3 separate regions of the Homo sapiens genome follow, and regions 1 and 3 are each linked to region 2. Evidence: promoter capture Hi-C in 16 types of primary human blood cells and fetal thymus (Javierre and others, 2016). All regions are on one chromosome and are shown on one strand. Each heading gives the region's core, a stretch centred on a gene start or on the middle of the fragment in contact. The rest is flanking DNA. Distances are from core to core; before and after follow the strand shown.

Region 1 (3,648 bases), core at 16-2,515, 83 kb after region 2:
TCTCTACAAAAAAATACAAAAATTAGCTGAGTGTGATGGCACATGCCTGTAGTGCCAGCTCCTCATGAGGCTGAGGTGGGAGAACTGCTTGAACCCAAGAGGTTAAGTCTGCTGTGAACTCAAGATCACGCCACTGCACTCCAGCCTGAGTGACAGAGCAAGACTCTGTCAAGAAAGAAAAGAAAGAAGGAGAAAGAGAAAGAAAGAAAAGAAAGAAAGACAAAAGCAAAGAAAGAAAGAGAAAGAAAGAGAGACGTGGGGAGGTGTTGCAAGAAATTAGAGCAGCTTGGTGTGGGATCTAGATTAGATTGGAATAGCTGATTTCTAGGGTATGGGTTGCAGATGAAGGATGACAGTGCCAGAGGGGTAGTCAAGCTTGGTCTTGAAGAACTACACTGAATAACCTTGATCTACACTAGCATACTACGCAACCTAATGCCTCTTCTTTTCCCCAGTGGCTTCCCGCCCCCCATCCCCTACCCCCACAGCCCCTCTTAACTTCCTCTTATTCTTGGACTGGGCACATCTCATCTATTCTTTGTGTGCCAATTCAAGTGCCACTTTCTCTGGAAAGACAGTCAGTCTAACCACCCTGTAGCCCCCAAGAACAGAATTTGAATAGACTGAACAACTGTACTTTGCATATACTTTTATTTTAACACTAGTTATTCTGTTTTATAGGTATTATTATTAGTTTTCCTGCTAGGCTGGAATTGTTTTAAATTTTAAAAATTAATCTTTGTATCCAAAGCATCAGTATGATACCTTGTACTTGTTCCCTGAATGAATAGATACCTGCATATGAGTGTTTCGGAAATGCAAAAGGAGTAAGATTGTCAGTGATGTCAGAGGACAGAGAATTTGAAATGGACATTAAGAATAGGTAATGTTTAACATAAAAAAAGAATGAGAGAAGACATATGCAAATGGAATAGCATAAGCAAAGATACGGAGGCCAAAATGTGAAGGCAAATACTGCAGAATAATGAATAATGACAAGGGCTGAAACGTAAGGCAGGCATTAGGGAGTATTTAATGATAAGAAAGTTAAGTTAGGGCTATATTATGAAGGGCCTTGAATATCCAGTGAGGGGTTCAGATTTAATCCATTAGTTCATATGGACATTATTCATAAATGTTTATTTTCAGATTTTTAAAAAATTAAATAGAGTAATCAAAAGACAATGGGAAGACAAATGCAAATGTATCTACTTTGGATGTTTATTTGCGGATTGTCCAGGAATCGAAACGTGGGAGTTCTAGCTGTTTAAGAGCCCTTCTCTCTGAGGTCAGTTTACATCTCTGAGGTCATCATGTCTAATATAGGACTAGACATTACAGTGAATATTTAATCAGTATTATTGGCGTCCTGAATATTGATGGCTGCTTTGGTAGAAGGTTAGCTAGTAGTCCACTTTGAGAGGGAATAGAGTCCTTGAAAAATAATTGATGGAGAGTAAAAAGATTATGCCATGAAGTAATTGGGAAGTAAGCACTGGGAAGAACTGAAATTGAGAAGAGGAAAAATAATAATAATAAATAATAACATGGTGTCTTGGCACTTATTATGAACCAGACATTGTGCTACGTGCTTTAGGTATATTATCTGCCTTGTTCCTGACAACAGCCTTTTGAAGTAGCTATCACCTTTTGTATATTACACACACAGAGTCTGAGGTTCAGAGATTCAGAGGTTCATTTGCTGAGGGTCACACAGGTGATAAAGTGGGGTGGAGCCAAGATCTGCAGCCAGCTTTGTCTGATAATAGTCGTCTCAAAGAGTAGAAAGGTAGCAGAAAAAGAAGCAAAAGAAATGTTGTAACATCTCTCTCTTTTTTTAAATGTATAAAGGATGGAACAAAAAAAAGCAGAGAGATAAATTCTGCTGTACCTTGAGGAGGGGAAAAGGCAAAAGGAACTTCTGATAGGGTTGGGACATCTGCTTATTCCTCTAAGGTCACCGGAATTAAAAAGGACTGCCAGCAATGTCTCAGGGAAAAAAACACTTCATCAGAAATCTCTGCGAAGATTATCTGTTGCTAGGATTAATTTCCAAGTCAGCTGGTCCTCAGGGATTATATAGGTGAAACTTTGATGTGAAATCCCATTTTGCCTAGTTTTAGACAGACTGTGATGGAGTGTGATGTAAAGCTTATGGTTTATGTGTGAAGAAACATCTGAAGAAATAAGATCTGAAGAACAGTTTTTAAAGGACACAGGATTAAGCAGCAAGCTAAATATTTGTCTACATACATTATTATTCAGGAATAAAATTGTTGGAGATCATATGATTAGGTGGAAGACATATTGTGGTAAAGCAGCATAATATTATAATCCAGGGCAGATTTTTGATATGTGGACCTGAGAATATAAAGGTTTGGTGGCACTGTGACCAGTAAGTCCCAAAAAAAAAAAAAAACCACTCTGAAATCTGATATCCAGTTAGAGACTATTTTAGATGTTGTGGAAGCTGAAGTCTGTGTAATGAATAGAAGTCCAGAGAGCATGTCAATTTGGGTCAACTCATGCTTAAATGCCTCAGATAAGAAGGAAAGGGACCAATTCACATATAAAATCTATGCCAAATAGCCTGTTGTCTCTAGAGTCAGAATAGAACAAACAGGAGGAGGACAAAAAAATCAAAGGAAAGTAGACATTATCCATATCCTTGCAAAAGGTGTGTAGCCTGAAGGATCAGAGCTACATAAATAATAAAGAGATAAATAAGTGGGAGAAATTTGTAGGCTTCAGGAAAAAAAAATTAAGGGAAGATCTTCAAAAAAGAAGCATGGAGATAGAGGAAGGGACAGAAGAGAAAAAATGAATTAAAATGAGTTAGATTCACATTTGGTCATGATACAAGAGGTGATCTGTTGCTGCAGAAAGCATATAGGACTTCACGTCAACATTATATACCTTCTTTGTTAATGGCATGACCTTTGCAAGGCACCTAACTTTTCAGGCCATCTATAAAATAAGGACCAATAAACCCTACCAACTTTACAGATTTGCTGTGAAGATCAACTGAGATGATATATGAGAAGCATTTTAAAATCTCTATAAAACCCTATGCAGAAATAATAGTATTCATTAGCAGGCAGGTTCTTATAAAATCTAGTTTAAACTGATGGTGCAAGTGATTAAGTGGGGATGAAAATTGAATGGAATTTGCTTAGAAGGAAGGTTGTCATGGAATTCCATGTCACACTGAGCTCTGCTTCTATTGTTTGGGCTGTATTCAAACATTGAGAGTGAGCCTATTTGTTTATTTGTGTTAGTGCCATTGAACAGACAAGTATGACAGGTGTTTCCTTACAGGTCTCTTCCTTATGTATACTATTATAAAGATCCAGGTCATGCTGGATTTTTTCCATGCAGTGTTTTCCAACTATTAAAACCCAAAGAGCTCCCACCTCTTTTCTGGATCTCTCTGAATTTTCTGCTTATACAATAACTTCCAATATAAATTATAATCAGGCTGGGCACGGTGGCTCATGCCTGTAATCCCGGTACTTTGGGAGGCTGAGGCAGTGGATCACTTGAGGTCAGGAGTTCGAGACCAGCCTGGCCATCATGGTGAAACCCCGTCTCTACTAAAAATACAAAAATTAGCTGGGCACACCTGTAATCCCAGCTACGCAGGAGGCT
Region 2 (3,976 bases), core at 1,477-3,976:
ATTTCTAAAGATATCCAGGAAAGCACAATCCATACCACACATAACTTAATATAATGATTTAACTTTCCTTTATCCAACTAATTTAAACGTAAGTAATTTATCCAACATTATCAAAAGTCTATTATCTAACAACTAAGGAGTATACCATATACCACCAGAAACAGTCAACAGTTTGATTACTAGGATTTTTTTTTTTTTTTGAGACAGGGTCCGTCACCCAGGCCATCACCCAGGCTGCAGTGCGGTGGTACAATCTTGGCCTAATGCAACCTCCACCTCCTGTGCTCAAGTGATTCTCCTGCCTCAGCCTCCCGAGTAGCTGGGACTACAGGTAGGCGCCATCATGTCCAGCTAATGTTAGTATTTTTTGTAGAGACGGGGTTTCGCTATGCTGCCCAGGCTGGCCTCAAACTCCTGAGTTCAAGCAATCCATCTGCCTCAGTCTCCCAAAGTGCTGGGATTACAGGCGCGAGCCACCACACCAGGCTGATTACTAGTTTAAGAAGCTGGATGATCAATTGCTTCAAGTTTTTTACTTCCCTTCCATATTTCAAGCAAAACACTTTTTCAAGTCTTTGAGGAATTCCTAAATTTATAAAAGCTAACAACAAAATACATTCTCGATCCATATAACACAGCCTCGTATTTCAATAACAGAAATATCATTTGGAAACAAGCTATTCGAAATTCAATCTGTTATTCTCCACTTCCTTCTTCATCTTAACCGGAATGATGGCGTGCAATTAATTGATTTTTAAAAATACCTGTTAGTACTAACTCTTACATTTAAAAGATGTGGGTACTTAAGCATGTCTCTGAAACTAACTCCTTACCTATAATGTGAGCTTTTTTTTAAAATTATTATTGTTTTTTGAGACAGGGTCTCGCTCTGTCACCCAGGCTGGAGTGCAGTGGAGCAGTCATGGCTCACTGCAGCCTCAACTTCCTGGGATCCAGTGATCCTCTCACCACAGCCTCCCAAGTAGCTGGGACTACAGGCACTGCGCCCCCATGCCCACCTCATTTTTGTATTTTTGGTAGAGACAGGATTTCCATGTTTCCCAGGCTGTTCTCGAACTCCTGGGCTCAAGCAATCCACCCATCTCGACCTCCCGAAGTGCTGGGATTACAGGTGTGAACCACCTCACCCAGCCTGATGTGAGCATTTTTTATTCTCGCCGAGAGGCTTTCTAGAGAGTCAACAAACATCCTACCTGGAAATGTTTTTTTTTTAGGAACCCAAGACAAGAAAGGATTTATCCTTTACAACCCACCATCCCCTTGGCAAGGTCGAGGTCTGAATCAAAGAACCAGAGTGGCTCTGAACTCCTATGATGAAAAGGTTTATCCTTTCTTATCTTGAAAGCTCTTGAAATTAGCAGTAAATTGCATAGAACTTTACAGTTCTACAGAACTTACAGTTTATGGATGCTTCCACAGAAGTTGCAACTTTATTAACAATTCCCTGAGCCAGAAAAAGGAGGAGCTAGGCAAGAGAAAATAATTCATCAGTGGTCCTCTAGACCAAAGGCAACAAGGCCCCAAATTCAGCTTTTTTATCCTCTTCCTAGGGTGCTTTCTACACTATACGTTATTTTTAAAATACCATTTACTAGTTCTCATTTATATTTAAAGCATTTCCATTTGGTATAAAATAGAACTTCCTATTTTACAGACATCAAATGATTGTTCCTGCAGTCACTGAATGCTTTAGCACTGCAATTCAACATTGGTATTTAACTGCTTAATGGCATTTTTATTACATGAGAAAAGGGTATATGCCCCAAAACTCCTTACCTGGGTTCTGAGCTTTAAATATGGGTAGTTGTTCTTTAGAAAATCGAAGGTAAGAACTTACAGGTTTCTTTGGACAACTTGCCAAGACAGATGAAAACCACCTCGGTAAATACACAAAACTACATATAAACAAAAAGAAAATAACCAGTGTCAGATGTTTAACTGTCAATATTCACATGTATATGAACACAGATCCCAAATAAGAAATGTCATCAAGATACTATGTATCCAACGCCTTCAACAAGAATGCTAGAGACTTATTAAAACCCTGTCCTAAACGGAGGGGAGCGTCTGCAGGACTGAAGTCTCAAAGCCCTTACCTCCTAGGAAGGGCAGGGAGTGAAGGAAAGCGTCTATACTCCAGCTCCTGGGCCCCGCCTCCTCAATGCCTAGATGATGGCCGGAGACTCGGCGCGAATTCGCAGAGGAGGCGGAAAGGATCCAAAGCTGGACAGTGAGGAGGGATGGGAGAAGCGAGTGGAGGGTAGCAAGAAGGTACGGCGTATTAAGAGAGTAAATAAAGGCCTGGTCTCAAGGCCACCGTCCCCTTGGCAAGGTCGCGGTCTGAATCAAAGAACCAGGGTGACTCTGAACTCCTAGGAGGGGCAGAAAGTGAAGGATAGGGTCTACATTCCAACCCCGGGACGTCCTGGGCCCTGCTGCCCCTAGGGCACAGGCAAGCGGGCCTACCTGAAGGGGGAGCGCAGTCGACTTCCACAGCCGGTGCACAGCTCTGCTCCAGACCTTCCCAGGGCACTCAGCACGCCCCACATGCTTCGGAGAAACGCCATCGCTCCGGTGGATGAGGCAGTGACCCGACCCCAATCTCGGAGAGCCTCCTGGCAATACACAACTCCAGCAATCACAACTGGAACCCGCGTGCGACCCTCCGGCGTGTGTTATCATGCCCGCCACTAGCGAGGCACTATGGGAAATCTGCTAACATCCGGTCGGTAGATGGGGGCGGGGCGGGGCGGAATTGGCGCAGGCGCGGGAGAGCGTACCCCGGTGGGCGGCCTTGCGGGGGAGGAATAAGAGCCGCGGAGATGAAGGGAAACCGCAATCCTCTAGCCTGCGGAGGGCTCTGGCTTCGAGGCGGCGCTGTTGAGCCACCTCTGTCCCCGGCCGCCCGGAGCAGTGGGTTCCTCTGCCGGGCCAGGAGGGTGATGGAGGGACCGCGGCGGCGGCCTCACCCCAACCCGGCGTTGGCCGGTGTCCGCCCGTGACGGTCACAAGGGCTGTACGTAACAGACAGTCCTGCATCCAGGACCCCGAGGTCCGATCGGCGGCTGCTGCGCGCCCAGCGGAGCGTCTCAGTTCAAGCCAGGGCTGGAGCTCGGAGTTCAGAAATAGTAACGGGAGAGGCGGGGATTCGCAAACCTAAAAATGCAGATTCCAAGGCCTTACCGCAGAGCTTAATTCCGTGTGTCTATGTGGGGCCCATTAATCTTCATTTTAGCGAGTTCCCCAGAATTTAACAAGTTCTAATGTCGGTGGTCTTGAGACCACATTTAAAGCAATATAGCTTTAGACTGTTTATTCTACCATCTACTGCAGTCTTTCAGTCTGGCCTCCAGCTTGCTTAATTTGAGCAGAGGAAACTGGCTAGTTGTCCACAGTCGCTAGTCTCAATTCTTCTAGTTCCAGTATTAACATTAACGTCTTGACTTGGGAATATTGCATTCCCTCGTTAAGATTCAGTTTCCCCCTCTGCAAACGAGGATGTTAGACTAAATCAGTTTTCCCAGCCAAAGCCCTGAGAACGTGTGACAAGTATGCCTTGAGACATTGATGTGTCAAAAATTGCTGTATAATTTTTTTATTTGTGTTATAGAAATACCATTTTCTGTATAGGCAATGGCATGAAAAAGATTAGGAAGACCTAAAGATACCTAAGGGTCCTTCCAGCCCTTAAATACCAGTTGTTTCAGAGCTAACCACCTTCTGAGACAGCCTTTCTTCTGTTGGATAGCCGTAATTGTTAGAAAATTCTTACCAGTGTCATATTGAGCTGACAGTCTATTTACCTTTCTGTAACTATGAAAACATTGGCTCTCTGGAAGTAGGACTAAGCCTACTTCTTCTTTTAAGCGGTAATAACCACTTCCCTTTTATAGACTCCCAGGGTTGAAAGGGACCTTCCAAGTCATCTGTTCAAACCTCCCATTCTGGCATGGAA
Region 3 (3,812 bases), core at 257-2,756, 100 kb after region 2:
TTTGTTTCTCTATATTTGTATCTTTTATTTCTATTTCATGTCAAATGACAAGAGCTAGCATCTTTGCCTTAATCTTGGTGTTTTGAATGTATCTACACTCTAGAATCTAGAGTTTCACTGTTTAGTCTAAGGTACACTGTTGCTTTGAAGAAGCCTATTTAGAAGAGTAAAGTAAGAGGATTCTTAGCCTTATGAGTAACAAGTACCTCATTACGTGCAGTGAAGGGAGCATAACAGATCAGTGAAACTTCACAATGATGGTATTTAATCTTAAACTTTGATATCCAAAAGGCTACTTAATGTTAAAGTAATCAAATTTTAATCTATCTGTAAATAATTGCAAGAGGCACTAAATTAGCTAAAAATTACAGAAAAACTCAAGGTATTGGCATATCTTATATTTCCAGATATAAATTCTATCCTGTCGTAGAGGGCAGTGTAAATGTAATATATGTAAAGTTTATATTATTTCTTTTTTTGAGGTCAATAAGATGTGGTACACAGTATATTCATATTAGAAACAAGCCTTGATGCAAAAACATAAAGTCAAGCTTTCAGTTTTTTCTTGGCATGGATGAGGAAAGAGGCGATAAAAATTAAACTAAAATGTATCCCACAGCAAAGTACAGCATTTCAAAGTGACATATGTTTAATAAACAAACACAGATGATTTTACAGTGAGCATAAAAGTTTACATTGTAAAGACTCTTTTTATAAATAGCACACACAAAACACTTCACTATAAATTAAATCCATGCAGGCAACATTTCTGAAAAATGAAATATTTCTAAATAACTTACTGAAATGGCATGTTTAACTTTTATTTTTTAATCTTATGTTGAAAATATTAGAAACTAACATTTTCTCAAATTATTTTCCTCCATATACAGAATAGGAGAGAAATCTATAGAAAAAATATACAAAGAAAATCTTACAAAATATAAAGAAAGTCATATATCAAAAGTGAGAATACATTTTTTCTCATCACCCAATTCTGCCTAAAAACTGAAATTAGCCTGTTTCTTCATATTCTTAAAAGCAAACACATATTTCTTTAAAAAGCAATGAGTAGTTTATCCTGGTTATTTGTTAATAAACTTTCATGCGATTAAAGTGTATAAAGCTTTTATGCCTTTATAATGCAAACTAGGTGTTAAAAATAATTTTGTGCAGAGACGTATTTTTTAATAGTACTTTTTATATCACTTAACCCTAGGAATTACTGCCTTATGTGTCTTGCTTTATTTCTGATCTATGCAGGAGAAAGATAATATGTGGTGGGTATACAGTTTTTTTTTTTTTTAAGAGATTAAATTAGATTGCACAGTGGTGCAATCGCAGCTTACTGAAGCCTCAATCTCCCAGGCTCAAGGGATCCTTCCATCTCAGCCTCCTGAGTAGCTAGGACTATAGGTGCATGCCATCACACTCAACTAATTTCTGCATTTTTTTGTGGAGACAAGGTTTCACTACATTGGCTGTTACATTCTCAAAGTGTTGGAATTACAGGCCTAAGCGACTGTGTCTGGCATTATATACTTTCAAATACAATGTAGGAAGTACAGTAATTTTTACATTAAATAATGTACAAAAATATGAGAATTTTATTAACTTTTTCATTAAACATTTTGAAATTTGTTAAATTGTTTTAAATTATGAAAAAAACACAAAGAATATTAAATTCAGTTCGTGTAGTATTGATACTTAATTTATTCTAAGATGTCAGCGTTTGTTTATTAACAAATCCTGGAAAAAGTCTGTAAATCAAATTTCCTTTATGTCCAGAAAACATCCTTTTATGTTTGTTAACCCAATTTGAACACTACAAATCCCAAATATCTTTAAAAGTGGGGGAAGAAAGGGTTAGAAGAAGTTGGAATAAAGCTTTAGTAGAAAAAACAGTGGAGGTCCTTGCTCTCCACCTGGAAAGCTAGCAATGCTATATGGATCTTCATAAAAACACAACATTTCTTTTTAATGGCCCCACATCTCAAGTTATGCCTCTGTTTTAATAAATGCTCCTCTTTGACTTATCTCTTCCACCTGAAACAATTTTCTTTTAAAGACTATCTTCCTTCTCTGAACTTCGTACTTTGTATTAGAGTTTTGATTTTCTGTCCCAAGGAAGTTGCCTGGCACCATTTTGGCTCATTACCATAAACTGTCCAGAAAAATATGCTTGCTTTGGTTGAGAACGAAAACGAAGTAATGAGATTTTTGAGACTAACCTAGAGATTATGACATTTTATACCATTCTTATGTACCTATTTCAATAAACCTAAGACAGTAGCTATAATATGAAAATGTACAAAGATAAATTAAGATTTTTATAAGACTGTCTTTATGTGGATTGGCCAAGGAATGTCACCAACATTCAGAATATCGTTTTTATGAAGAAAGACTCAGTAAAATGCACTTCTAAGCCATTAACAGGATGGAGGATTTCTCTTTTTCCCCCAACACCCTCCCGCCAAAAAAAAACACCCAGGATCAAGCCTACTACCAACGACAAAACAAAAGTATCATTAACTCAAATCTTACCCTGTAAATGAAAGAAAATGAGTCTAAACATGTCCAGTTGCATTTCATTTCAATTTCAGTTCAGCTCCTGATGTTAACTGGTAAGACTTTCCTCTCTTTCTTCTTAGTCTGTATTCTTTTGCTGTCCTTGTTTGAACTGCCTCCTAGGTGGCCGTCATACAACTCAGCAAGTGATGTAACCAACCTGAAGTTGCAGGGAAAGGAACCTAGCAATACTACATCCCATACCCTTCCCTCTTACATCAGAGTCCTTTCATCTTCTTGTTTCGAAAGTAAGACTATCTCTTCCTTTTTAAGGCTGAGTTTCACATCTGTGCTGTTACTCTCATTTCCTTCCACCCTTTGTCAAGATACCGCTGACTCAAATAGTATCTTTCCCTGTAGTCACTTTAATCATTTCCTCTATACTGGCTCCTTTCATTCTCACTTCAAATATGGATAGCCCTTTTGTGAAATACAATTGGCCCCATCTGTATCTGTGGGTTCCACATCCATGGATGCAACCAACTGCTGATAGAAAATACTCGCTAAAATAATTGTATGGGTACTGAGCATGTACACTTTTTTCCTTGTCATTATTCTCTAAACAATACAGTATAACAACTATTTACATAGCATTCACACTGTATTAGGTATTATTTGCAATCAAGAGATGACGTAATAATTTAAAGTATACAGGATTATGTGCATAGCTTATAGGCAAATACTGTCATTTTAAATCAGGGGCTTGAGCATTCTCAGATTTTGGTATCCATGGGAGGTCCTGGAACCAATCCATGGACACCGAGGGAAGCCTGTACTATAAAATAAACCAATTTCTGGGCCGGACACAGTGGATGACACCTGCAATCCCAGCACTCTGGGAGGCCAAGGCGGGTGGATCACTTGAGGTCAGGAGTTCAAGATCAGCCTGGCCAACATGGTGAAACCCTGTCTCTACTAAGAATACAAAAATTAGCCAGGCATGGTTGTGCATGCCTGTAATCACGGCTACTCAGGAGGCTGAAACACGAGAATTGCTTGAACCCAGAAGGTGGAGGTTGTAGTGAGCTGAGATCACGACACTGTACTCCAGCCTGGGTGACAGAGTGAGACTCTCTCAAGAAAAAGAAAAAAAAAAAAAGCCAAGCCAATTTCTGAAACATCAGATGACATACCAATGCTGGCAAGAGAAGCACTGGACAAAAGGGAGGGATATGTTTTTAAAAAATGTAATTTCTGCACATTACTAAGAAATCTGATTCATTAGGGTTGGGAAACCTGCTCAAGAT

Evidence for each region. Contacts are between HindIII fragments. The CHiCAGO score rates a contact against its expected background, and 5 or more counts as called.
Region 1: a fragment that was not itself captured here is called in contact with the fragment with the promoter of TFAM in region 2 in 16 of 17 cell types (monocytes, neutrophils, total CD4 T cells and 13 more); the score reaches 15.0 in monocytes.
Region 3: a contact is called between a fragment that was not itself captured here and the fragment with the promoter of TFAM in region 2, in 15 of 17 cell types (monocytes, activated CD4 T cells, non-activated CD4 T cells and 12 more). The highest score is 15.9, in monocytes.

The regions. Positions count from the first base shown.
Region 1 is chr10:58,300,498-58,304,145 of GRCh38, reverse strand. No RefSeq gene overlaps it. Among named protein-coding and RNA genes, the nearest start is that of UBE2D1, 33 kb to the left of the region's middle. The HindIII fragment of the contact is 1,776 bases long and covers 378-2,153 here.
Region 2 is chr10:58,384,160-58,388,135 of GRCh38, reverse strand. It overlaps TFAM (transcription factor A, mitochondrial), which reads right to left and starts at 2,726. Exons shown (of 7, transcript NM_003201.3): 1 at 2,488-2,726; 2 at 1,798-1,916. The coding sequence starts at 2,588. RefSeq lists enhancers at 2,326-2,982, 3,176-3,275 and a silencer at 2,666-3,045. The HindIII fragment of the contact is 8,486 bases long and covers 1-3,976 here.
Region 3 is chr10:58,281,812-58,285,623 of GRCh38, reverse strand. All of the region lies in intron 2 of CISD1 (CDGSH iron sulfur domain 1), which reads right to left. Among named protein-coding and RNA genes, the nearest start is that of CISD1, 15 kb to the right of the region's middle. The HindIII fragment of the contact is 761 bases long and covers 1,126-1,886 here.